Regions from separate parts of the Homo sapiens genome. Here all the other regions are linked to region 2. The links are contacts of gene promoters, found by promoter capture Hi-C in blood cells and fetal thymus (Javierre and others, 2016). All regions are on one chromosome and are shown on one strand. Each heading gives the region's core, a stretch centred on a gene start or on the middle of the fragment in contact. The rest is flanking DNA. Distances are from core to core; before and after follow the strand shown.

The links. Contacts are between HindIII fragments. The CHiCAGO score rates a contact against its expected background, and 5 or more counts as called.
Region 1: a contact is called between a fragment that was not itself captured here and the fragment with the promoter of ZNF326 in region 2, in 2 of 17 cell types (activated CD4 T cells and monocytes). The highest score is 5.9, in activated CD4 T cells.
Region 3: a fragment that was not itself captured here is called in contact with the fragment with the promoter of ZNF326 in region 2 in 6 of 17 cell types (activated CD4 T cells, total CD8 T cells, naive CD8 T cells and 3 more); the score reaches 9.6 in activated CD4 T cells.
Region 4: a fragment that was not itself captured here is called in contact with the fragment with the promoter of ZNF326 in region 2 in 9 of 17 cell types (neutrophils, naive CD8 T cells, total CD8 T cells and 6 more); the score reaches 13.6 in neutrophils.

The regions. Positions count from the first base shown.
Region 1 is chr1:88,875,291-88,882,136 of GRCh38, forward strand. All of the region lies in intron 2 of GTF2B (general transcription factor IIB), which reads right to left. Among named protein-coding and RNA genes, the nearest start is that of GTF2B, 13 kb to the right of the region's middle. The HindIII fragment of the contact is 2,406 bases long and covers 1,541-3,946 here.
Region 2 is chr1:89,992,442-89,998,496 of GRCh38, forward strand. ZNF326 (zinc finger protein 326) reads left to right here and starts at 2,669. Exons shown (of 12, transcript NM_182976.4): 1 at 2,669-2,832; 2 at 5,669-5,713. The coding sequence starts at 2,817. It also overlaps the pseudogene GEMIN8P4. RefSeq lists enhancers at 2,321-2,887, 2,888-3,453, 3,335-3,384 and a silencer at 2,475-3,114. The HindIII fragment of the contact is 7,808 bases long and covers 1-3,969 here.
Region 3 is chr1:88,961,906-88,968,945 of GRCh38, forward strand. It overlaps KYAT3 (kynurenine aminotransferase 3), which reads right to left. Exons shown (of 14, transcript NM_001008661.3): 4 at 6,765-6,909; 5 at 2,924-3,073; 6 at 154-240. Among named protein-coding and RNA genes, the nearest start is that of KYAT3, 27 kb to the right of the region's middle. The HindIII fragment of the contact is 2,075 bases long and covers 952-3,026 here.
Region 4 is chr1:88,980,311-88,987,370 of GRCh38, forward strand. All of the region lies in intron 2 of KYAT3 (kynurenine aminotransferase 3), which reads right to left. It overlaps RBMXL1 (RBMX like 1), which reads right to left. Exons shown (of 3, transcript NM_001162536.3): 3 at 1-3,756. The coding sequence starts at 3,516. The coding sequence ends at 2,344. Among named protein-coding and RNA genes, the nearest start is that of KYAT3, 8.8 kb to the right of the region's middle. The HindIII fragment of the contact is 4,277 bases long and covers 477-4,753 here.

The DNA of each region.
Region 1 (6,846 bases), core at 1,494-3,993, 1.1 Mb before region 2:
ATCACAGTTTATTTCCCAGACCAGCCCATAAAAGCCTACTTTGCCCCTGATGTTTAGACCGTAAAGAAAACTGTTCAAGGTGATAGTGGAAAATAGTGAGGAAAATACATTGTAAGCTCCATCCCTGGATATCTTATTACATTTCAATTTTCCTCAAATACAAGTAGGTCGATAGGAGCAGCAGCATCTAAGATGAGGAGCTGATGCACTGGTTGAAGGTGTATCCTAAATTTGGCCACAATAAATTTGGCCACTCACTCACTACTACTGTTTAGGCTTCTATCCTATGGCATAGGTTTCTTTTTCTCTTTACTTGGAATCATTTTCTCTCCATAAATCCTTACTCATTCTTAAAAACTATGCTTCACTCGAAATTCAACAGTACTATCTTCAGGATGTCACCATACTCGGAAGATCTGTAATGTAGCTTTTACCGCGGATACTGTATTAAGTTACCCTACTCTCTTTCATACACTATCCAAAGAGTTGCTCCAGGGTTTGCTTACAGCATTCTCATCTTTCTATCACTCTCAGTGACCAACCAGCACAGTGCTTAACTGAGACATATGGTAAAAAAAGGTTTTTAAGTCCCATAGACCTGGATTTATGTGGCTCTGTCACTCAGAAGATGGGAATCTTGAGCTAGTTACCTAAGCACTCTGAGTCTCAGTTTCCCCTTCTGTAAAATGGAAACAAACCAGCTCAAAGGGCAGTCTGCTACTCAAGCAGTTAATGAGTAATTTTTTGATGTTTAAGAGAAAAACTGCACCCAAATTAAAAGCTGTATTAGGCAAGAAGGCTGTGTCTAACGGCTTACAAGGGATGCCAAAGAAATAACTTGTAAGTGAATACAAATACGTTTATTTTAAAAACTTAACTTGGCCATATTAAATGAAACCTGATTTTTTCCTTTAGGAAACACTGTTAATGCTAACTGAAAGAGGGTAACCCAATAATCTTTAACATACTATAATTGGAGCATTAAATATACCAGACCCACAGCAATCACTCAAAGATATGTTGCAACTGACATGCTATGAAATGTGGCATCTCACACTTAGAATCACCCTCTTTTTCTACAAGGTTAAAAAAAAACAAGGGGGAAGCCGAACACAGTGCTCATGCCTGTTCTAGCACTGTGGAGTCTGGAGCAGGAGGATTGCTTGAGCCCAGGAGTTCGAGATCAGCCTGGGCAACACAGGGAGATGCTGTCTCTACAAATATTAATAATTTTTTAAAAAATTAGCTGAGGGTGGTGGTTTGAGCCCGTGGCGACAGCTACTTGGGAAACTGAGGCAGGAGGCTACCTGAGCCTGAGAGGTCAAGGTTGCGGTGAGCCATAATCATGCCACTAGCCTGGGCAACAGAGCGAGACCCTGTCTCAAAAAAAAGCACTTGTATCTCCACAATATGTATCAGTGAAATCTTATACTAAAATTACACTATATATTTTATACATTATTTCATCTGACTCAGCAATTCTGAGATGTATCTGTCTTTCATGGGTGAGGAAAAAAGATTTTACAGATGAAACAAATTAAGCTTGAACAAAGTATGTAACTATAGTTACACAGCTTACTAATTAGTAAAGCCAACCCTCAATTCTAGAGACACTGACTTCTAGCTATACTAGGAGCAATGGAGACACACAATTATAAAATATATGCCCCAAAGGAGTTTGCAGTGTAGGTGTGAAGACATGGAAAATATGAAGATAAAAAATCTAAACGTACAGAAAATCCAAAAGAATGTGGTAAATTATAAAGTAGTACAGATTTGTGTTCCTCAATATGTTACCAATGTATGACCTACATTAGAATTTCTGGGAATGGAGCCTAGAATCTTTTTAAGCACATTCCCCAGCTGACTCTTAATGCCCATTTATATATTCATATTTCAGATTCGCTGGTATAAACAATATGCAGAATGAGTTTAGTAGAAGGGAGAGGTCAAATGGACTCATTTCTCTCTTTCAAATATACCTAAGCTATTTTCCAGTATTTTCCTTACGTTGCTTTTACATACAATCAAATAATTTAGATTTAAATGGTACACAAAAAAGTGGCTTTAACTAGAAATACTACTACTAGTTTCAAACAACTCCTCATTGTGAAATAATTTATAAAGTCATGATAGACCAATTTTATGTTTTAATAGCAATTATGGCAGGTTACTAAGCTAATACTTTACTGATTATAAAAATCAATTTATGGGCAATGTACAAGGTCAAATTCATGAACTGATTATCTAAATACAATAATACTGCCACCTAGTGTTCAACTTTTAAAACGACATAATCATACAATTGGAATTTGGGAAAAAACCCCCACAAAAGAGTGCTGTTAGAACAAACAGTTTCGGCCGGACACAGTGGCTCATGCCTGTAATCCCAGCATTCTGGGAAGCCGAGGCACGTGTATCACTTGAGGTAAGGAGTTTGAGAACAGCCTGGCCTATATGGCGAAACCCTATCTCTACTAAAAATACAAAAATTAGTTGGGCATGGTGGTGGTCACCTGTAATCCCACTACTCAGAAGGCTGAGGAAGGAGAATCACTGGAACCCGGGAGGCAGAGGTTGCAGTGAGCCAAGATAAAGCCACTGCACTCCTGCCTGGGCGACAGAGCGAGACTCGGTCTCAAAAACAAAACAAACAAACAAGCAAAGACAACTAACAGTTTCACAGTAGGAACAACAAAACTTTAAGAATTGGCCCAGGTTGGGCGTGGACATTTTGGGAGGCCAAGGCGGGTAGACTGCTTAAGGCCAGACGTTCAAGACCAGCATGGGCAACACAGCTAAACCTCGTCTCTACAAAAAAATACAAAAATTAGCCAGGTGTGGTGCTGTGTGCCTGTAGTCCCAGCTACTCAGGAGGCTAAGGTGAGAGGATCGCTTGAACGAACCAGGGAGGTGGAAGTTGCAGTGAGTCGAGATGATTTCAGTGCACTCCAGCCTGGGGAACAGGGTGAGACCCTGTCTCAAAAATAAAAAAATAAAAAATTGGTTGTTTTAGAGTCACTACCAGTATCTCAAGGATCACTGATGAAATGGGCAGCTAATACCAAATCATAACACTTCATATGTTTCAAATAAAAATCTTGTAATTCAAATAAAAGAGAACCAATTAAACAACTATCACATGTTGAATAGCATTAACTATAGCTACAAAAATTGGAAACAAGTTTTAAGAGACACTAAATAATACATAGCTATTTAAATACTGGGGAAAAGCATTATCAAAGGACAGTAAATGTGTGACAATTTGTATTTTCCAAAGATGGCAACAATATCTCCCATCCACATGTTCTTCTGCAATGTGACCTCGTCAGTATCAAGTTTAGGTACAGCCTATTTCCCCATTCCCTTCAACTCAGGTGGGTCCTATCATGGCTCTGACGAATACAATACTGAAGTGATCCTGTGCCAGTTCTAGGCATAACCCTTACCTACCCATGTCTAGCTTCCACTTTCTCAGAACACTTGCTCTTGAGGTATTTCTCTTAGAAGCCAACTACCACGTAGTATAAAATATGACTACTGTAAGACAACTATGGAGAAGCCCTGGAGGATGACAGATCCATGTGCGGAGGTCAAGGAGCACGGAGGAACCAGAAATGCAAGTGAAGAAGTTATCATAGAAGCAGATCTTACAGGCCCAGCCGGTGCCAACTGCCCAGATAAATCCTTCCCAAATTACTGACTCATAAAATCATGAGCAAGATAAAATGGTTGTTGTAAGCCACTAAGTTTTGAGGTAGTTTGTAATGTAACTGTAAATGAAACAAAAATTGGTTCCTGAAGTATTATGTTGCTTTAAGAAAAATAAACACTTGCCTCTTGTTTTCAGATTGGTGGTGGGTGGGCCTCAAGAAGAAGGAGGTTTGACAGACAATGAGATAAATGTTATTAGAGGCAGGAAAAAAGGTATAAAGTATAAGATATAAGCTTATAAGATAAATATACTTTTGGTATTATGAATTATTTCATTAAAAAAGGTGATAGTGGCCAGGTATGGTGGCTCGTGCCTGTAATCCCAGCACTTTGGGAAGCCGAGGTGGGCAGACCACCTGAGGTTAGGAGTTCGATACCAGCCCAGCCGACATGGTGAAACCCCGTCTCTACTAAAAATACAAAAAATTAGCCAGGTGCGGTGGTGGGTGCCTGTAGTCCCAGCTACTCAGGCAGGAGGCTGAGGCACGAGAATCGCTTGTACCTGGGAGGTGGAGGTTGCAGTGAGCCGAGATAGCACCACTGCACTCCAGACTGGGCAACAGAGTGAGATTCCATCTTAAAAAAAAAAAAAAAAGTAATAGTAATGGGCTCTCTTAGTTGCTAACACAGATGAGAGGGTGACATATGGCTCTGATTATGCAAGTTGGGCCGTATCTATGCTTAAGTTTGCTATTAAGAGGAATTAGTGACAATGGGTTGTCCTAATTTTCAAGCACAAATTAAACGTTAATTAAATATAAGACTGTCCAGCTGGGCGCAGTGCCTCACACCTGTAATCCCAGCACTTTGGGAGGTCGAGGCGGGTGGATCACCTGAGGTCAGGAGTTTGAGACCAGCCTGGGCAACATGGTGAAACCCCGTCTCTACTAAAAATACAAAAAAATTAGCCGGGCGGGGTGGCATGTGCCTGTAAATCCCTGCTACTCCGGAGGCTGAAGCAGGAGAATTGCCTGAACCCGGGAGGTGGAGGTTGTAGTGAGCAGAGATTGTGCCACTGCACTCCAGCCTGGGCGACAGAGCAAGACTCCTCCATCTCAAAAAAATAAAAAAGAAAAAGAAAAAGAAAAGAAAAATGGGACTGTCCAAAAACAATTCTGAAAATGTTTACTGAATTAATATGGTTTAATCTAAAAAGTTTCAGACAATGTAAAAAATTTTATGGCAAGCATAATCAATCATGTATACCAAGATAATTTATTAGGAAACACTTGATGTCTGGATTCAAATTCCCATGAAAAACAGTAATTTAAATAAGAAAAAAGTCACAAATGTTGTCCCTTAGTGGGTTGTAGAATATTTGCCCACCTTGATTTCTTCCCCATTTTCTTAGTGTAAGAGGTAAAGGCTGAACTGAGCTGGCAATGAAGAGCAGATGCCTTTAAACCAGCGAGCTGATGCAAATTCAATTACATATACAGTCACATGTTGCATAACATTTTGGCTTAGAATGGACTATATACACAATGGTGGTCCCTTAAGATTATAATACTGTCTTTTCATTGTACCTTTTCTATGTTTCGATATATAAATACTGGAGGCACTGACTCCAGAGAGCTGAACACATTCACATATATGGCAGGGTCTGTATGCACCCTGACAACTCACAGAACAATGGGATGAAAGGATACTTTCTCCCACTTTTCATAGGTAAACTGGATAAGTTAATGTACCTGAGTACCTACAAAAATGTAGTAAGTGGGGCCTGGCGCAGTGGCTCACACCTGTAATCCCAGTACTTTGGGAGGCCGAGGCTGGGGGTATCTCTTTGAAGCTAGGAGTTTGAGACCAGCCCGGCCAACATGGGGAAACCCCGTCTTTCCTAAAATAACAAAAATTAGCTGGGAGTGGCAGTGCATACTTTTAACCCCAGCTACTCGAGTGGCTGAGGCATGAGAATCACTTGAACCTGGGAGGTGGAGGTTACAGTAAGCCGAGATCATGCCACTGCACTCCGGCCTGGGTGACAGAGCGAGATGCTGTCTCAAAAAAAAAAAAAAAAAAAGAACTAGTAAGTGAAGGTACAATTGGTCAGACATGCCCCACAAAGCCTACATTGAACAGGATGTTAAAAACACCACATACTAGAATATGAGTTTGGCCAGAAGCTCCAAAAGCCAGAATAAATACATGCTAGGTATGTATTTAAAAAAAAAAAAAAAAAAAAGATACATACTTACCTCTGAGTTAAAACTGCCTACAGTACTCAGTACAATACCACTGTACAGGTTTGTAGCCCAGAAGCAATAGGCTATACTATGTAGCCTAGGTGTGTTGTAGACTATACCATCTAGGTTTTATTAAGTACCATCTATGATGTTCATATGATGAAATCACCTAACGATGCATTTCTCAGAACATACCCTCATCAAGTGACATATGATTTTAATGCAATCTAAATGTACTATTGATATATGACATTAATATATACAGGTGTTTATGTCATATATTGATTTATATTCATGCAGTGTCATGTTCAATTTAGGTATTTCCAACTTAATTTGCTTGATGATAGTCTCAGCAAAACAGAACTTTGCTCCTAGACTCTTCTACACCTGCCCTTGTTTGGTAATGGAATGGATTCTTCGCTTACAAGATATATTACACATTTAACCACAAATATCTATGAATGAGCCTACCGTATATTTTAAAATAAGTGTTGGTTATATTTTATGTTAGAAGAATCAGTATCAAAAAGAAATACTGTCATATATTATAGAAAGTAAGTTTTATTGGATATGTTTTTCAGATCTCAAGATTTAACATGGTGTTTGATACTAGTAAGTCAATAAAAGCAAAAACAAAATTAACTTCCTTTGGTTTGATATAGCAGAAAAGTACAAGCAAAAATTAGGAATTCCAAGCACAAGAAAGCATACAAGTCTTGTGAATTGTATCTTCCTTTTTCAGTTGATTAATCTCCACTGTCTTGCTGGTTAAAGTGGAAGTGAGGCTGGTGGGAAGGCTGAAAATATAATGGGATACTTTTACATTATTTAAAAATGGGCCAGGTGCCATAGCTCACGCCTGTAAACTCAGAACGCTGGGAGGTCGAGGCAGGTGGAACACTTGAGGCCAGGAGTTTAAAACTAGCCTGGACAACGTGGTGAAACC
Region 2 (6,055 bases), core at 1,419-3,918:
TTCCAGCAACTGGGTGGACCCTGAAAAAAGGTAAATAATTTGATTCATGGTTTCCTATCTGGTGATCAACTCATTGTTGCCACCGTTTGCTCTATGAAAAAAAAAAAGTTTTTTAATCTGTGGTTCAAACTGCTCCAATGTCAGTTTGTCTTTTTCCAGATTCCTGAATGTTTGAATAACTTTGTCCATGTCTCAAACACTGTTTCCAAAGTGGCAATAATACAATCCAGTATGTGTGTGTGTGTTTCTATAGGTCATCCTTCAAGCTCTGGATGACTCTTCTGCCACAAATCTTACCCATCTGTGAACTGTTACAGCTCTTTTATTTGCACCTTAAAATTCAGAACTGGATCATAGCCTGTCTCTAAAGTTATTTTTTCTAGACTTGACATTTTCTCAAGGAGTACAGGTTACTGAAACAGAAGAGAAATTAGTCCAATAACATCTCTTTTAAATGTCTTGAAAATAAACATTGGTGACAGTTTTGGTTCATTATCAAATCAGAACCCCTGAAGTGAAACCTGAGTATTGGCACTTACTAAAAGTGCCCTGGAGGATTCCAGAGTAGAGTCACAATCAAGAACCACTGACTTAAATGGCCAAGAGAGCCCCCCACCTCCGCATCACTAAGTATATCTTCAAAGAAAATGAAACATAATATTTGGCTAAAGAGAACTTTTAACAAACACTAATCATTAATAAATAATAAATCTTGTTTTAGGCCAAATATATATTTTACATTATGAAAGTGCTCAAGAATTTGGAGATATAGAAGAACACATAATCATGTGTATATAAAAAGTCATCACAAAAAGAATCATCGTTCATGTTTTAGAATTCTTTTTTTTTTTTCTAGGCAAGAACTTTAATGAATTGAACTGTTACTGACAACATAAAAAACCAGTATAATATATACAAAATTATCATTTTATGTCAGGATAAAATTTATCATGTTGGCAACAGAATATGTCCTGCCGACCTCCAAGTGGCTGGCACAGTACATCCACCCCGTGACAGGCCCACTGGGACTGTGGTGAACGTGCCTGTACCTCAGTACAAAGTCCCCTTTCCCTGAGAAATGTACAGAAGGAGAGATGAAGAGCGCGTATCCAAAAGGAAGAGGAAGAGGCTGGGTGCCCTGTGCCCCGAGCTCAGAACTTCGGGGGGATGACCGGCCAGTAATTAGGCTGCTTTGGATCACAGTGCTTGTCAAAGCTCAGCTGCACGTTAGCCTCCATGGCCTGGATCTTGGCGGCGCTGTCCCAGTACAAACGCTTCATTTCGGCCTGGCGCCGCTCACCAGGCCTCTCAGCTGGGGCCTCTACCGACCGGCGGGTGTTGCAGTACAGGTCGTGTTCAGCGTTCACGTAGCTGTTCAGGCGCTCCGCATCCAGCTGTTGCCGCCGCAGTAGTTCTTCTCTGTGCCTCTCTGTCTCTGCAAAGTACTGGCGGAGCTCTTCGGTGATTTCCATATTGCTCAGGTCACATGCTACCTCTGCATCTGACTCGGTCTCCATCTCTTCCTCCTTGGATAAGGCTTGGTCTTCTCTTGTGGATGCCTGGATCCTACTGCTGCCATGTGGATGTTGCCCAGACCCTCTGAAATGTGAAGAACTGCAGGGGGAGTCCTGCTAGGCCACATGATGGTCATAGAAGGACTGAGGATACGCAGCCTGGTTATCGTAAGAGCTTTGGGGAAGAAGCGCAGGAAGGAAGAACCATGGAAGACTGAAACAGGATTCCACCGCCTTCCTGTAGGCATTGTGGTGGCTTTGCATCCAAGCCATTGCTTGATGATAATGTTGCCAGTATCTTGCATATACTGGATGAGAATACCAAGGCCTGGTAGCTTTTGATGTTGATGCCTTCACCACTGCCATCTCCGATTGTGAAAGTCCAAATGGGTGCCGAAACTTGTGGGCGCGCAGCTTGCAGATCCTGGGCGGTGGCCAAGCAGGCCATGTTTTAGAATTCTTTCCAGGCGGGTCGCATTGGCTCACGCCTGTGATCCTAACACTTTGGGAGGCGGAGACGGGGCTGGGGGTGGGGGGATCGCTTGAGTCCAGGAGTTGGAGACCTGCTTGGGCAACATGGCAAAACCCCCATCTCTATAAAAATAATTTAAAAATTTTTTAAAAGAATTATTATTTCCATTTTATTTCAGTGCTTTGTCCTTTAAGAAAATTTATTGACATAGCGATAATCAGACTCCATACGCTATTTTGTATCTTGCTTTTCAAATTTGCCACAGGCTTCTAGAAACGTCCCAGACTTCTGTGTCTCCATGGAGGAAACCCCGTAAGTACTTACAAATGTTATGATTAGTCATCCCTAGCCAATACTAAGCAAAAGGTAGGCATGCGGTTTTATTAGTTTGGGCAGGAAGAAGGCATTCCAACCGGCTTCTTTCGCTCTTGCCAGGTTCAAACATGGCGGGCCGCAGCCGGCCCTTCCCGTACACTCGGCTTGCTTTCCCACAACCCCCGCCAATCTTTAGCGCTCCTTTTTTACCTTCCTTCCCCGTCAGCGGCTCCAGAGGGTCAGCACCTCCGAGCGTGACAGCGGACCTGCTTCCCGCCCCCCACGCGAGGGCCCGCCCACCAGCCCGCGTCAGCCAATAGCAGGCCGCGCCGATGGGGCTGGTAGCGCCGGTCGGCCCCGCCTCCCCAGCCTCGCTGTGGCCTGCGGCTCCCGGGCTGGTAGCGCGCCGCTCTCGGTCGCGCGGAGTGATCGTGTGGAATCGCGGGTCGCGGACGCTCGCCGCCGGCCATAGCTCAGCCTAGCGCCGCCAAGGCCGACGGCCCTCAGCCTCTGCCATGGACTTCGAGGACGGTAAGCGCTGCCTCTGGCTGGTCGGCGCAGCTGGCAGGAGGCGGGGTGGCCTACGCAGGGGGTCTGTTTACCGTCTCAAGATGGCCGTGTGGGCTTTGTTCTGCGGGCCCGGAGGCCGCCCGCCCGCCCCGGGCCCAGCGCCCGGAGTCGGCCTCTTTGGGGACCCACGCGCCCCGATTCGGCCCGCTCGGCGCCCGCTGCCGGCGGAGACAAGAGAACTCGGTGTCCGGTAGGACGCGCCTAGAGCGCGAGAGCCTCCGGGCTGGAGCCCCAGACTCGCCTTGGCCCCTGGTAGTGGAAATTGCCCCGACGTCTCCAACTTCCCGGTCTCGGGCAAACGGGCGAGTGCGGCCTCACCCACCTAGTCTCGCATTCGCCCCACAGGGCAGCGACCCAGACCGTCCGTTTAGTTAATCCTCAGCCTCGGGTTACTTCTTGCCAGATAGAATTTTCAGAGGCTTGTTCACAGTGATGTTTCTGTTTGTCCCGGTTTAAGATGAGTTGAAAGGGTGTCTGTAAGTGATATGTATAGATAAATATCTATGCAAAATGGAAAGCAAGATGTTTCCTGGTTAGTAAACTGGGGTGTTTATCACCAAAAATTACCTGCTTATTAATCCCTAACTTGAAATATTTATGTGAACCAAAGCACTTTTCTTTGGATCGTGTGTAGGTAGGATTTAAGTTAATCAGAATTTTGGCACAGCAAGCATCAAATGTCCTTCACATTTAGACCTGTACACAGCCTTGTAAGTGTTTGACTTACGGATTAAATAAACTGTATTTTAGCAATACTTTTCAGTTGTCTCAGATACTAATTCTTTAAACCACTTTTACAGGGTCACAAAGTAATATTAATTTGGTCTTCACTTTTGTTTTCAAACCTTGCTTGGAATTGGTGTCAAGATAAAGTGGTATGTAGTGACAACATTAGGGAGACATGGGAAAGGACTTATGTGATTAAACTGGATTTAATCCTGAGTAACCAGGCATGCTTAAGTAAAACCAGTTCACTAAGTAGGCTGTAAACTTTTAACCCCACCAAAAAAATGATCTTTAAATGAGGTGTGATCTCAGCATATGTCTTACTCGATGAGCTTTTGATTTTTCATAACATTTCATGCAACAAAGAATTAAAGCTTTCATATCTAGGTACAGATTTGTGAAAGGGGACTGGAATAGCCCTCTTGTAGATACTTTTCAGTTACTTTGAAATAGTAAGTTCAGCTCTTAAGAGTAGCACACTCTCGTGGTTTTGTTTGTTTTGGTTGGACTTTAACTCATTTTGATGTAGATACCTTTAAACTATGAATATTTGGGCTGGGCACGATGGCTCACACCTGTAATCTCAGCACTTTGGGAGGCGGAGGCAGAAGAATCCCTTGAACCCGGGAGGCGAAGGTTGCAGTGAGCCGAGATCGTGCCATTGCACTCTAGCCTGGGCAACAAGAGCCAAACTTCGTCTGAAAAAAAAAAAACAAAAAACCAACAACAAAACAAAAAACTATGAATATTTGAAGTGGCCAGAGTTGGGAGTGAAAATAAAAAATATATTATTGTATTTTCATGCTGTAGTTTGATGATAATGCCAACACCCAAGGTATAGCAGAGGCTAACAAAGTGGAGGTGGGGCAGTAGAAACAGTTCTTTCCACTCCCCACCCAAGGCAATAAGGGAATCCATTTCTATGGAGAATTGAAAAACAATAATAAAATGTAGTATGTCTGCTTTCTGTTATTGCCATATGCCAGAATTCTAAACAGTGTCAGTGATAGAAATTCTAAACAATATTAGTGATGAAATACGCCCTGTCTCACTGCCCAAATATACCACTGCTGTATTTGGAAGATGGAGTTTGACTAACACCATATATGAATCTATTCCTGTATAGTGTAGCAGGATTCTGTTGTATCCAGATGACCACTATATTAAATTCTGTTCTTTCAGTATATATTTGTAAAATTAACTAAAGAATTTAACAGTTGTTAAATTAGTTTTGATGAGGAAATTGGCAATATGGTTTTCAGTGATGACACATTCTGCTTGAATATAGAACACAGTCATATATGTATATGCATATGCATGTCTCAGATAAGATCTTGAAATCTTTTTTTTTTTGAGACAGAGTCTCGTTCTGTCGCCCAGGCTGGAGTGCAGTGGTGCAGTCTTGGCTCACTGCAGCCTCTGCCTCCTGGATTCAAGTGATTCTTCTGCCTCAGCCTCCCTAGTAGCTGGGACTACAGGCACGCACCACCAGGCCCGGCTAATTTTTATATTTCCAGTAGAGAAAGGGTTTCACCATATTGGACGGGCTGGTCTCGAACTCCTGACCTCGTGACCCGCCCACCTCACCTTCCCAAGTGCTGGGATTACAGGCGTGAGCCACCGTGCCCGGCCAAGATCTTGAAATCTTTAAAGAGCAAATTAAATGGTAAAAGAAATTAACTTAGCAAAAATTTCATGTTACGTACAATTCTCAGATGTCTTTGCTTTTGCATTATTTGATACATAATTTAATCTATCTGCCTTTGTGTTACTTGGTACAAATCAGTGCTGAATCCCCTCTTTTGGCTGTTATTATGTATCAGGTGTTGTAAACTAATGTTTACCATAATTTGGATAATAAACCTACCATTTGGGGAGATAGTGAAGAAAAAAGAGATACATTTTCTGGAATGGAGTATTGGTAATTATTTGTTTTAACTATTCTCAGTTTTGCAGATAATTGGGTTAATGTCATTTTAAAAATTGTGCTTGTTTTTTACTGGATCGGCATATAATTTTGAATTATTGCTAATATCACACTAATTCCTTTTTGTTAAATGTGTCTTCATAGATTACACACACTCCGCCTGCAGGAATACTTATCAGGGCTTTAATGGTAAGTATCCTCTTTCAGCTTTTCTCTTCATGCGCATAAAAATATAGTATCAATGTAAAAGGCCAGTTCTACCTATTTCAGTCCTTGTTTTGGTTCTTGATATATCATTTATGTGTTAATATTGTCTTACTATATATAGTATTTGAATTGGGGAATGTGCTATCAGAAAATGTTAGGGGTTATTCACATTAGTTTGATTTTTTTTTTGGTCCATTTTGTTTGAATTATGATTATTTTAATGTGTTCCAAAGGGCCTAACTACATTCTGAGTGATGAATCACAAGACACTGGCTGAGTTATTTTGGTTGAATTAGAGGCTTTGGTATTGAGTAATGTAGACTA
Region 3 (7,040 bases), core at 739-3,238, 1.0 Mb before region 2:
AAATATTTTAAAAAGACAACTAGACAAATAGAGATATACAGGAAATCTCCAAATGCAATCAAAGTAGAAACTTTATCATGACAAAGTAATTGGTATTTTCAAGACTTCTTAAGTCTTGAAACTTTGCCATATGAACCATACTGGCAAACTTACAGATCTCAGGGGAATAAAAACAGGTGTTGCTCCAGCCATTCTCACCATGGGCTCATAGCAGTCATAGAAAGGCACTATTAGTATGACCTGCAATAAAAGCAAATAAGATCACAACCTGTCAATCATTTATTCATGTTAATAATACTGTGTACCTACTATGGGCTAGGCACTGTACTATGTGTTGGGATACAGCAGTGAAAAAGGCAGGCTTTGCCCTTGTGGAGCTAACATCTGAGGGGAAGAGACCTCGGAGACAAACTTGTCCAGGTAGTCTTAATTGGACTCCTTGGTATCTTAGGGAGATCTATAAATAAGCATGCAGTGGGAGTATTTGAAATTACATATAAAATTTCATATATGCATAGATAGATTTACCTGGAGAATGGGACTATCACATTCTCAAAGGGATATTCCAGGCAAAACGATTAAGCATTTCTTCATATTTCAAATCAGAAAATAAAATCTAGAATATAAGTGATGTATAAGCAGTGACAGACAGCAGGCTATGTGGGAAGAGAACACTGTAATGTTCCCTGGTATAAAGTGCTAATTTAAAAGCATTATCTTGAGAGTAAAGATGTTTCTCTCTTCTCAAAAGCACGGTTAATTTTTGTATTTTTAGTAGAGATGGGGTTTCGCCGTGTTGCCCAGGCTGGTCTCAAACTCCTAACCTCAGGTGATCTGCCTCAGCCTCCCAAAGTGCTGGGATTACAGGCCTGAGCCACCACACTCAGCCTCATCTGTGAAGTTCTCAGGGACTAAGACAATCTATCTTTGTAACTCTAGTGGGAAATATAAAGCTTAATACAAGGTGAGAGCACAATAAAGGAAAATAAATTGGAGAGGCAGGGCAGTAGAGTGGGAGAAATATACCTGTTACTCTTCGCCTTGATTTTTTCACTTTTATGATGTGAACAATTCCTCTCTCTCTTTTTTTTTTTTTGAGAATATTTATTGCGTCCTCACTATTTTAGGTGCTGGCAGTAAAGCTATAAAGTTCTCCTAGAACTTATATCCTACTGAGAGAGGCTTATAATGAACGGAGAGACAAATAAGGACATTAGATAATTTCAGATAGTAATAAATGCTATAAAGAAACAATAAATAGGTCAGTATGATAGCAAGTGACATGTATGTGGTTTCAAAATACTAGATAAGTTGATGAAGGAAGAAAGAATAGAGGAAAGAAAGCTAAGGGCTAAGCCTTATAATACTCCCAACAGAGTGCAGAGAAAGAAGCAACAAAGGATTAACAACATCGAAGTATGAGACAAAACTATGTATAGGATTAAAGGAGTTTATGTATATGAAACTGTGAACTTCATTAACATGTTTCCTTAAACATCTTGTCTGGCATAGTGAAGGGAATCAAAGTTGTAAAAGAATAACATAACACAAAGCAGATAGTGGCATCTTTCATAAAAGTGGTATGATAAAGGGTTATGAGAGTTTAAAGAAAGTTAACAATATAGATCAGGATAAATATTCGTTCTGCAGTCCCAGCTTAAGCAATGTCTCTCTGGAGCTTTCCAGACTTAGCAGAGGTGATTGCCTCTTCCTTTTGTCACTACCATAGTGTTCCTCGTAATCCATTTGCAAGTCTGTGTTCTCTACTAGACAGGGAACACCTTCTGCATAGAATCTATCTTTAAAACATCTTCTATCTCACAGTGCTTAGCATATATTGGATCCTCAGTATTTTCTGAATAAATGAAAGAGGCAAAAAGTATTAAAGTAAGGCTATTGGAATGCTAATGGGAAATACGGGTAGAGATGACTGAGGTAGTTGCAAAAGTTGGTCATACCTCACAGTACTAAATCGCAGAAATCATTTTACCTTCCTATTATATTAATACATTCTCAGCTGGGCGTGGTGGCTCACGCCTGTAATCCCAGCACTTTGGGAGGCTGAGGCAGGCGGATCACCTGAGGTCAGGAGTTCGAGACCAGACTGGCCAACATGGCAAAATCCCATCTCTACTAAAAATACAAAAATTAGCTGGGCTTCGTGGCGGGCGCCTGTAATCTCAGCTACTCAGTAGGCTGAGGCACGAGAATCACTTGAACCCGTGAGGTGGAGGTTGCAGTGACCAAGATCGTGCCACTGCACTCCAGCCTGGGCAACAAAGTGGGACTCCATCTCAAAAAAACAAAAACAATCACAAAAACATCCTCACATGGGATGGCTTATACAATTACTGGGCACACAAAGACATTGATCAAAAACTTGTAGACCAAGTTAAGAGTAAAGGTTATTTTAGCAATGAAAACAAAAGATTCTTTTTCCCTGGCAGTGTTAGTCCCTTCCATCTGCCCTTATTTAAATAGGCTATAAAAATAAGAATAAATTATATGCAACAAAATGGATGAATCTCACAGACACAAAAATAAATGAATGGATCTAGACCCAAGAGTATACACTGTATAATTATATTCATATTAAGTAAAAGAGCAGTGAAAACAAGCCTATGGTAATAGAAGACAGAAGAGTACTTACCTCTGGGAGAATATAGACTCTGAAGAGGAACAAAGAAGTTTTCTGGGTACTGGAAATGTATCATATCTTTGTCTGGTTGTAGTTGCACAGAAATTTACACAGTAATTTATCCAGCTGTACATTTAAGATTTGTGAACTTTACTGTACATGCATTATACTTAAAACATAATTAAAAATAAAAAGAGAAAAGAGTAGAATATAAGCGAAAGATTCAAAGGTGGGACAAATGATAATTGATTAATATGGGTATTACGATAATGTTAATATACTTACTTCATCTCCCTCATCAATTAATGCTTGAATGGTGTTAAAAAGAGATCCATATGCTCCTACTGTCACAAGGATTTCTTTATTTGAATCAATTTGCTTTTGATAAAGCTTTTCATACAGATAGGACAGAGCTTTCACAAGTGATGGATGGCCCTGTTGGATTAAAAATAAGAACAAAACCTTGAATTTAAATATGGGACCTACTGTTTGAGGTAATATGGCTCTAAAATGTAAGAATTTTTAAAATTTGGATTTGATGTTTATAATTACCCCAAGAAAATTTATATTTTTTAATGGCAATAAATTTTTTAAAATTTCCTACATTTAGAGTATTCCCACACTATTTGTCATGAAGGCTTGCTAATGATTAAAACTTCTTACTAAATAAAGGGTTTGGGATTATATAATTTCAAAGTATTTGCTTTGAATAAAAATCAACCATTTGTATTTTTTGACAGTAATTAAATCATATTGAAAAGAGTTGGATTTGTTTCCCAGTTAAAATAAGTGAAAAAAACCCACTTTAACTGTATACCCACTCCTTGGCTCTTCCTGATTGCTGGAGAGATGGTTATGCCAACCAATGGACTAGGGAAAGAGAACAAAAACAAATTCACCAACGACACGAACACTAGTGTTGATGTGATAGCAAATGTTAGAAGGAAGTGAGACACTACTCACACTGACAGTCAAGAGAGCAGTGGTTATCCAAGGTAACTACTTTCATAGGAGAAGTGAAGGGATTATGAAGGTACAGCCTGAGGCAAGCAGGGGGTCTGAAGACTCCTGGATTAGCTCTCCCTAAGTTCTCTTCTAGGCTCTCTCCCCTTCCTTCCTTTTTTTTCTTCCTTTTCCTTTCCCCCTCCTTGTTTTATTTGGTATTTAGGTCAATATTTCCTGTTGTTTTCTGTCCAGCATCTACCTCCTCATTTTGCTTTTGAAGTACCATCCTGATTTTCTATCCCTTGAGAGTAAGAGTGCAAGTGCAGGTCATGTACCTTTGTTTGAAAGCACTTTGGGCTCTGGAGCAATAAACTGAGTTCCTTTGAATTTTACTTTAATAGCAGGTCTAACAAATTCTAGCAAGAGGAGATCTGAAAAGCAACTATAAACACTATATACATTTCTTAGAATGATAAGTGTTTGTGCTTTTAAAATTAAAAATTTAAATACAAAAATAATTTATGCTTCATGCAATAAGTAAAACTAGGCAAAGATGTATAAAAATTACAATCGCTCCTCAATATTATTTCATTCCCATCCCCCTGAGGTGATGAATGTCCACAGCCTGGTGATAGTGCAACACCACTCTCAGTGCTTATACCAATATAAAAACACATAGACATGTATATACCTATGTATTTACAAAAACTAGAATATACATATTAATAAATAAGTGGGTATGGTTGTGTTCTAATGAAACTTTATTTACAAAATTTGACATATTGGGTCCATAGGCCATAGATTGCAAAACCCTGCTATAGACCAATTTGGGAAAACTGACATAGACAATATTTAGTCTCTCAATCCATGAACATCATTCCCAATTTATTTAGGTATTGCTTAATTTCTCTCAGTAATGTTTTATAGATTTCATCGTACAGATCTTGGATATATTTTAAAAAATTTATTCTTAAATGTTTTGTGTTTTGGGATACTACTATAAATAGTATTTAAAAAATTTTACTTTCTAATTGTTCATTTTAATATATAGAAATACAACTGATTTTTGTATATTGGCTTTGTGTCCTGTGACCTTGCTCAATTCATTTATTAGTTGTAGTAGGCTTTTTTTTCTTTTAGAATTCCTTAGGATATTCTATGTACACAATCATGTTTTCTGAAAATGAGTTTACATTTTTCTTCTTTCTAATCTATGTATCTTTATATCTCACAGGACTCCAGTACACTGATGAATAACAATGGTCAGAGTGGACATCTTTGCTGTCTTTTCAATCTTACTATATTATGTGCACTACAGGTGTAATCTGTAGGTTTCTCATAGATTCCTTTTATCAGAGTGAGAAAGCTCCATTCTATTTCTAATTGGCTGAAAACTTTTATTATAAATGAGGGTTGAATTTTGTCAGATGCATTTTCTATATATACTACATAAGATGATCTTTTTTTTCTGATAATATAGCATAATTGCAATGATTAATTTTTGGATATTAAAACTAATCCTGCATTCCTATGGTAAACCTTACTTGGTCAGGATGTATTACTTTTTATATCTTTATACACACAGGCACACACACATGCACACACACATATCTGGATTTGATTTGCTAAAATTTCATAATCTTTGTTTCTATGTTCATGAGAGATATTGAACTGGAGTTTTCTTTATTTCTTTCGCTGGCATTTTTTAAATCAGTTTTTGTATCAGGGTAATGCTGAAACTAATTTTATGAGACCAGCATTACCCTGATACAAAACCCCTGATTAAAAGTTCAGACAAAACCATTAGGCATTTCTTTATTTTTCAAATTACAAAAATTGTTGATCAATAAGTAAAAGTTTTTCATCCTGCTCCACTTTCTGAATAAATGTGTGCAGAACTGGTATTATTAGGTTTGTGCAAAAGTAATTGCGGTTTTTGTCATTAAAATTAATGGCAAAACCGCAATTACTTTTGCACTGACCTAATAGTTCTTCCTTAAATACTTGATAGAATTCACTAATAAGCCATCTAGGTATTGAGGTTTGTTTGCAGGAAGACTTTAATTACAAATTCATTTTCTTTCATTGACATAGGGCTAGTTGCATTTTTCATCTCTCCTTGTGTCAGTTTTGGTAATTTGTATCTTTTAAATAATCTGTTCATTTCATCCAAGTTGTCAATGTACTGACATAAAATTATCCATAATATTATCCTATTATTGCTTTCATGTTTGTATGATCAGTAATGATATTCCTTCTTTCATTCTTCATATGGTACTTTGAGTTTTTTCTTTTTTATTGGTCAATCTAGCTAAAACTTTTACTTATTGATCTTTTCAAAGAACCAGCTTTTGGTTTCATTAATTTTCTCTATTGTTGGTTTGTTTCTAGCCTTTCATTATGGATTTGTATAGGCTGGGGAGTGAGTTATGTTGAGTAGGTCTGAGATGGGGGTCTGTAGGGTGGGCCAGGGAGTGAGATCTATGAAGAGCAGGGATTCTCACCAGTGTCAAACCCTGTGACACAGGTAAGTTTCACTGCTTTTCCCTGTGCTATTCCCAAAGCAAAACCCTTCTATGGATTTTTATAGTTAGACCACTATAGAAGACAAAAAACAGGCTTCCTCCTATACCATTCCCCTCCCCATTTCCCACAATATCATAAAAGGAAAAGACAAGTGGTCAGACATATGATAATTGTATGGCTTTTGGCACAACAGATACAAGTCTACAGTTCAAAGGTACGTCTGATCTAGAAAATCTTTGGCTATCCTAGGCATTTCATTACAGAAGGATGGGAGTGAGCTGGCACAAGGAGGAAAAACGTAGCTAGTTGGATATATTAAATAAAGGGTCAGTGCTCAGGCTGCATAAATGTTGATGAGATAGAAAAGACATGTCTCAAGAGAATGTTGTTCCTTATCGTGTTGCCATAGGATCCTATCTTGGAGCAACAGTAAAGTAAGGGCCAAAAGAAAGAAAAGTGTAGAGGGGCTGGAAGTAGGCGAAGGCTCATCTCAGGACATAGGGCAAGGGCAGAAGTTTCTGTGGTTGCTAGGATGGGACAGCTGGTCCCAGAAAGTCACTTATATATGAATGACAGAAGGGCACATGCACACACACAGACACACACCCCAGTATAAAATAAAAGCTCATGGCCCATATGGTCTTGATATACTTACAAAGCCTCGTGTATACTGATTCAGGCTATCGATTGCTGCAATCTTTGATAATTCTTCTTTTACATATGTAGGAGGGGATATATCTGGAAAGCCTTGGCCAAGATTCACAACAGAAGGGTCTGCAGCCAATTTGGTAAATTCAATCCTAAGATTGAAAAAAATACTAATATTAATAAGTTCTACAATTATAAAGTTCGCTTTTTTATATCTTATAGTCTTACCACAAAACAGACAAATAAGACCCTAGTTTAGTCCTATAGGTTTTAAAAAATGAGT
Region 4 (7,060 bases), core at 1,365-3,864, 1.0 Mb before region 2:
GCTGAATTTAAAAAGCTGCCAGAGTATTCTGAAATCATGCCTTCTTTTCTCCCTCTGGACCAAGCACCCGCCCAAGCAAGCCAACTTTAACAAAATTATCTCATAGATTTTGGATTTTTTTTTTTTTTGCCATGTTAAAGTTGTATTAAGTTTCAATACAAAACATTCCAAAAAGTGAAAAGTGATCTATAATACCCAAGTTCTATGTTCAACTACCACTTAAACAAGGAAAACATTTTCTAATATCATTCTGTTTTACAACCAGTATAAACCCAGAAGAATCAAGATCTGATTCTTTTTCCACACGTCTGCTAGTTCAGTAAACTATTTATCAAACAGGTGTCTGGTCATTTTAACATACTCCTTGCTTTGAACAATATTCATTCATATTTGGTACAAACTCTATATCCTATATTTAGGATATCTAAATATTTTAAATATTTAGGATATCTTAAGAGCCAAAAGGTCCTCACAGAAGCTTTAACCCAAGTAATCATAAGAATATGGAAGGATTCGGCTAAGACAACTATGGAAGTGTAACAACCACATAAATTTGGTCATTACCCTTGTGGTCTGTGATTAGTAGTAGTCTGCCAAATGAGAGTTAAAAATGTTGTACTTACTATCCCTAGTTGCAAATGTTAAAACATGACAGTGCCATAATTACAACAAAAAAAATTAGAAGTTGAGTTAGTTCCTCTAATCCAACAACTCAAGTCTGTTTCCTTTGAGAACATTACACTATTGGCTCTAGTCTCCAAAGCAATAAACTAAAACTTGTTTCCAAGACGGGGAGGTAAAGCAGGCTTATAAAACAATACAGCAAAAGAAAGCCAAGTGGCCCAATTGTTTCCAGTGTGTTTGCCATCTTAGCATGGTTGTTACTTTCCAGATGTCACTCATAAGTTTTATTCTACAACTAAACTGTTTGTGGATAAGCCACCACAAAAAAATGTTTCACTTACTGACAAGACACTTCACCAGATAGAGCTACCACTTATATCCATCATTTTTATAATTCATCTTAAGTTCTAAATTGAAGAGTTGTCCCCATGACTTTAGCTAAACAAAATGAAACCCAAAGCTGTAAAATCTGTGTAAAGGACCACGAGAACCTCCTGACTACCTCCACTTACCAATTTCCTTAATTACTTCCCCTTTTCCATTTGGTCAATTACTTAAGTAACTACCACTCACTCCCTAGTTATGAGTGTTAATCAACACTGATGCCTTCCTGAGATCCACAGGAACCCTTGAAGGCAAAATCTATTGCCTGCACCAAACCAATTCTGACAGCACTGCTTATGCAACTGCACTGACTTACCAACAATCAGCCGCCTTCTGCTTCAACAACTCTTAGCATTTGATTTCTCTTACTGCCAGCGTTATCTACTGTGAATCAATCAGCACTCCACAAACATAATGAGCACAATCTTCAACCATCTTTGCTGTTTCACAGGCATTTGATGCTTTAAATCTGATGTGGAATGCTGATAGATTCACTTTTTAGAAGTCATAAGCCTTTAGGAAGTTGGAGATAAATTCATTGCTTATCTATTTTCTCCTTTGCAATCAAGCTGTTCCTTTAAAAGTGAGACATTAGAGTTGCAAAAATTTGAAAGAGTAAGAGCAAGCACCTTTGCAGCTTCATGGTTGGTTTTGGCCAAACTTTTTATTTAGTATTCCGTAGTTGTTTAGCACACACTTAAATGGTCTTATTGTGGGAGGGGAAAGGGGAGGTTCTTGCAGATTCCCAAGGAAATGTCAGAAAGGCAAAATGGCCAGCATTATCCATTTGCTTTTTTTGGGTTTACTGGGTGAATAGCACTTTCCTTACATAGGCATCTGATTTCAGGTTTTGCATACTGAGAACAGTGAGATTTCAGTTAGAAAACACCCTGAAATCTTATGAGTAGCATACTCCAACCACCCTCTAATAGCTAGCTTGTTTGTATAGGCAGAATGATTCATCTCTCCATTTTAGTTGGCTAGATGTTTTGTGGAAGATCTTAGAATTGCTTGCCTCATTTACTGGGAAAAACCAGATAGGAAGTGGTCTTTAGGGACACCTTTACTTGGAAAGTTACAACACTAGTACTACAAGGCTTAACACATTTAACATTTGCTTGTTGAAAAGCAATGTCATAAAGTCAAATAAAATTAAACATGTTTTACTTTTTTCCTCACAAGAACATAAAAATTACGGAAGGGACTTAACAGGGAATTTAAAAAAGGTAACACAATTTTTCCTTTTAGTAGTCCTTGGGTAGTTATGATAGAATAGTTTCCACTCTTTTTTTTGTTTCTTTGAACTGGGATTTTGGTCCAAAGTTTTGTTTGTTTCTAGTATCTGCTTCTGCCTCCCCCTCTATCAGATCGGCTTCCTCCAGGGCCAGCACCTCTTGGTGCTCCGCGGCTTGAACTGCTGTAGGAATCACGTGAAGAAGGGTACCCCCTTTCTACAGAAGGGGGAAGCCCTCTTTCTTGTCTGCCAACCCTGTCACAACTTGAGTAGAGATCACTTCGGCTGCTTGAGTAACTGTCTCGACTTCCACCATATCCATCACGTGAGCTGCTATAATCATCATAGCGACTGCTTCCACCATAAGATGGCGGGGGCCCTCGTGTAAGTGGAGCACTACGTGAGTTACCATAACTCTCATATGAATCTCTGTAGGAACCTCCACTTGGATGATCTGAATAGTCACGATCACGACCATATCCATCTCTATCGCCATAGCCTCTTGATGGATAGTCATCACGTGAACTGGAATGACCATAATCACGGTAAGTATAATCTCGTGGTGGTGGTGCATAATCTCTTGTATCACGAGAACTTGGGTAATCTCTGCTTGAATAGCTGTCTTTAGTAGAATACCCATCATCTCTTGGGGACAAATAAACATCTCTACGAGAGGGGAGCGGTTCCCTTCGAGGTGGACCTCCATAACTATCTCTTCCACGTGATAGAGGAGCTCTTCCTCCCATTCCACTGCTGCTGCGAACTAGTCCTGAAGGTGCAGATCTCTTAGGAGAAGGACCCCCACTTCTTGGTGGTGGTCCTCTTTTTACTGGGAGTGGTCCCCTGGAAGAACTCATGTTAAAATTCATGGAATATCCACCATCATCCATGTGTCCTCCTCGTGAAGGAGGTCCCCTGGTTCCTCCACTTCCTCCTCTTCCAGCTCCAAAACCTCTTGGAGGACCTCTACTTCTTGGAGGTGGGGGCGGTCCATGTCTACCTCTTTCAAATGATGGTTTGGTGGCTTGTTCCACCTTGATGGCTTTTCCATCTAATGACTTTCCATTCATGTCTCTGGCTGCATCCTTAGCGTCTGCTGGGCTTTCAAAGGTGACAAAAGCAAATCCTCTTGATTTGTTGGTTTCACGGTCTTTTATCAAGAGTACTTCCACTATTCGTCCATATTTGCCAAATACTGTTTCAAGAGCTTTCTCATTTGTTTCCGTATTAAGCCCACCAATGAAGAGCTTTCCTGGGCGATCTGCTTCAACCATTTTTTTTTTTGCCGGTGAGTCGGAGGGGTGACAGTGGGTTCAAGCTCCAACAAGCTCGCCGACAGGGGCTTCCTAGCAGCTCAGCACCAGTGGCGGCTGTCAGTTAGGAGGACTGAACCGCGAAGCCGCTAGCACTACTGCGCAATCTGGATGCTTTTTAAGGTATGGCTATCCATTCAAAAAACCAGGAAAATTACTTTCTTTTGCCACTAGATGGCAGAGGAAAACAACAGAATGTTCCTGTAATGGTGGAAGAAATGAAAGTAAAACTCAGAAGTGGAAATGTAAAGCAGGGAAAGATGCTTAAAGATACATAAAAAATGCAATTATATTAAGCTCAAAAGTGTGTATAATTAACAGGAGCCCTTTTTTTGTTGCTTTTTTTTTTTTTTTTTTTTTTTTTTGTAGACAGGAGTCTCACAGTGTTGCCCAGGCTGGAGTGCAGCGGCGCAATCTTGGCTCACTGCAACCTCTGCCTCCCAGGCTCAAGCCATTCTTGTGCCTCAGCCACCTGAGTAGCTTGGATTACCGGCATGCGCCACCACACCTGGCTAATTTTTGTATTTTAGTAGAGCAGGGTTTCACCATGTTGGCCATGCTGGTATGGAACTCCTAGCCCAAGTGATCCGCCTGCCTCGGCCTCCCAGTGTTGGGATTATAAGGGTGAGCTACCACGGCTGGCCTTAACTGGAACTTTGAAACAACATATAGTTTGTTACTTTATTTTATAAAGAATTATTTGTGCCTGATACGCTGTAGCTATTTAACATCTGTTGACTGAACAGATCTGCTGAGTGAAAGGGAAGCAATTTGGACTCCCTCTGAGAGATAATGTATTTGGGGAAAAAATTGTACTTCAATAGAAAACTATGCACTGGCCACAGCACAGCTTTAGGGCTGATATTTGCAGGGCTAGAATTTGCCTTTGAGTTATTCTGGGCTTTTGTAAATTGAAGCTAAGTGACAGGCATGCAAATTCTGGTTCTAGCATTTTGATTATCTTCCCTCCACCCTGTAGAAAAAACAGTTTTGCCTTCATTTGCAATCCAATTCCTTTACTACATATGAATTTGTGCTTTTTGACTTTCCATATGTACTGGTTATAACTTCTGTCTGGTTACTTCATATCACATGAGTGAAATAAAAATCTTTAGCACATGTTCATTTTTATATTTGTATGAGTCATGATTTAACCTTTTTCTGAAAATTATATTTTAACAATTACTTCAGAGAAACAAGCTTATTGGAAACAAGGCTTTCTCTAAATCTGAAAGCTGATAACAGCTAAATACATGGCTGGAATGCCAGAAATGGAGTCAGGCCAAGTGGAGAACAAAAAGCCTGGTTTATTCTCTCAAAAAAAATTGGGTTCAAGCCAAGACCTTGGAAGAGTGAGTAAGTGAAGGGAGTGCGTGAGTATTGTCCTCACCCATATCAATAGGCCTGGGGCCCTTCTGCCTGCCTACACTGTGTAATCTCAGCTCCCCCAATCACAGCTATAAATCAGAGTTGGACAGTCAGGCTGAACCAATCAAGACAACTAGAAGTTTGGGTTTGAGGCTGAGAAACAGGCTGTTTCTTCTGGGCACATGAAACAGAAGATTGGTAAGTTTGAATCTGGGCAAGTCTGTGTTCAATCCCTCACACACATGCCATGTTCTGTGCCAAAAACACACCTACGTTCCAAGTATATTGTTCAAGGTTGTTTAATGCAAAGAGCTTTCAAGCCAGATAGATCTTAGTTCAAAATTAAACATCAAAACTCCTAGTGTGTGAAGTAGGCAGGTTACCTGACATCTCTGAAATTCAGTTTCCTTATTTGCTAAGCAGGAAAATGAATACCTGCCCCATGTAAGTGCTATGGCAATTAAATGAGGCAAAGCCATAAGCAGAAAAATATAGTTCATGGCATACAATATATATACTCCAAAACTAGTGCCCACTCAGAAAGTAGGAAAGATTCTCTTAGATACAAGTAAGGATGAGTAACTTTGCACTAAAGGAGGCAAAGAGATATTGGGTATGGACTAAATGTACAAAAGGTGATACTTTCACATCAAAAGAGAGGGTTGGGCTGGACGCAGTGACTCATGCCTGTAATCTCAGCACTTTGGGAGGCTGAGGAGGGTGGATCACTTGAGCCCAGTAGTTTGAGACCAGCCTGGCCAACATGGCAAAACCCCGTCTCTACAAAAAATACAAATATTGGCCGGGAGTGGTGGCGGGCACCTATAGTCCCAGCTACTCAGGAGGCTGAGGCAGGAGAATTGCTTGAACCCGAGAGGCGGAGGCTGCAGTGAGCCGAGATTGCGCCATTGCACTCCAGCCTGGGCGGCAAGAGTGAGAGACTGTATGAAAAAAAAAAAAGAGAGAGAGAGAGAGACAGAGAGAGTTGATTTCCTTAAGGAAGGACAGACCTAAGGAAAAGGTTTTGTCCAGTGTTGCTTTTGCGCTTCTCTGGTGGACATTTAAATTTTAGACTCTCTTAAAAAAAAAAAAATTAATAGACTATTTTAGGGCCAGGCGCGGTGGCTCACGCCTGTAATCCCAGCACTTTGGGAGGCCGAGGCAGGTGGATCACAAGGTCAGGAGATTGAGACCATCCTGGACTACAGGTGTGTGCCCAGCTAATGTTTTGTATGTTTAATAGAGATGAGGTTTTGCCATGTTGCCCAGGCTGGTCTTGAACTCCTGGTCTCAAGCGATCCACTGGCCTCAGCCTCCCAAAGTGCTGGGATTGCAGGTGTTAGCCACTGCGCCCCGCCTACATTTTTCCTTTAGCATTCAAAACATTCTTTAAAATTAGAGAATATGTAAAATGTTTTTGTAAAAAAGCAAGTAATACAGGAAAATACAGCCTATCCTTCATTCTATTCCCTTCCCGGCAGATTTTCATGACATTAAGGATGATGTGGATGAAACGAATATTCTAAGTAAGTTCACAGTAACTTATCTGGCTGGTTCTGACAAGTCTTTCTTGATTTAAACTTATCACTATTGCTTTTGTAACACTGGCCAGTGTTTTTCATTCGTCCAGCAATAGGAAGAATATTTATCTTTATCCCTGTGCGACTATTTTAAATGCAAAGCCTCTGATGAACTGTAGACACTTTTCCAATGTAGTTAAAATGATACAAACACTTTGGCAGTTACTTAATTAAACATAAAGCTACCACACAACCCAACCATTCCACTGCTAGGTATGGAGAGGGGTTAGTGCTATCCCAAATAGTCCACAAGTTTGAATAATGCATTGTCAGTGGTTTTTGCCTGGGACATACATCAGAATCAGCTGGAAAGATTTTTCAAAATACATTCCAGATATGTAGAATTAGAATGCATAATGGTGAGCCCTGGCATACGTAGTCTAATAAAAGTTCCACAAATGAGGATTGTGCACACAAATGCCCTTTTAGTGCCATGGTTTCATATGTTCACCTTGGGGAAGCACAACCACTTCCCTGGCTTCAACCGACTTCTATGTTGGGAGAGGGCCTGAAAAAGGTGGTCACGGTGGCATAAAGAGGAGAGAATTCAAGACAGT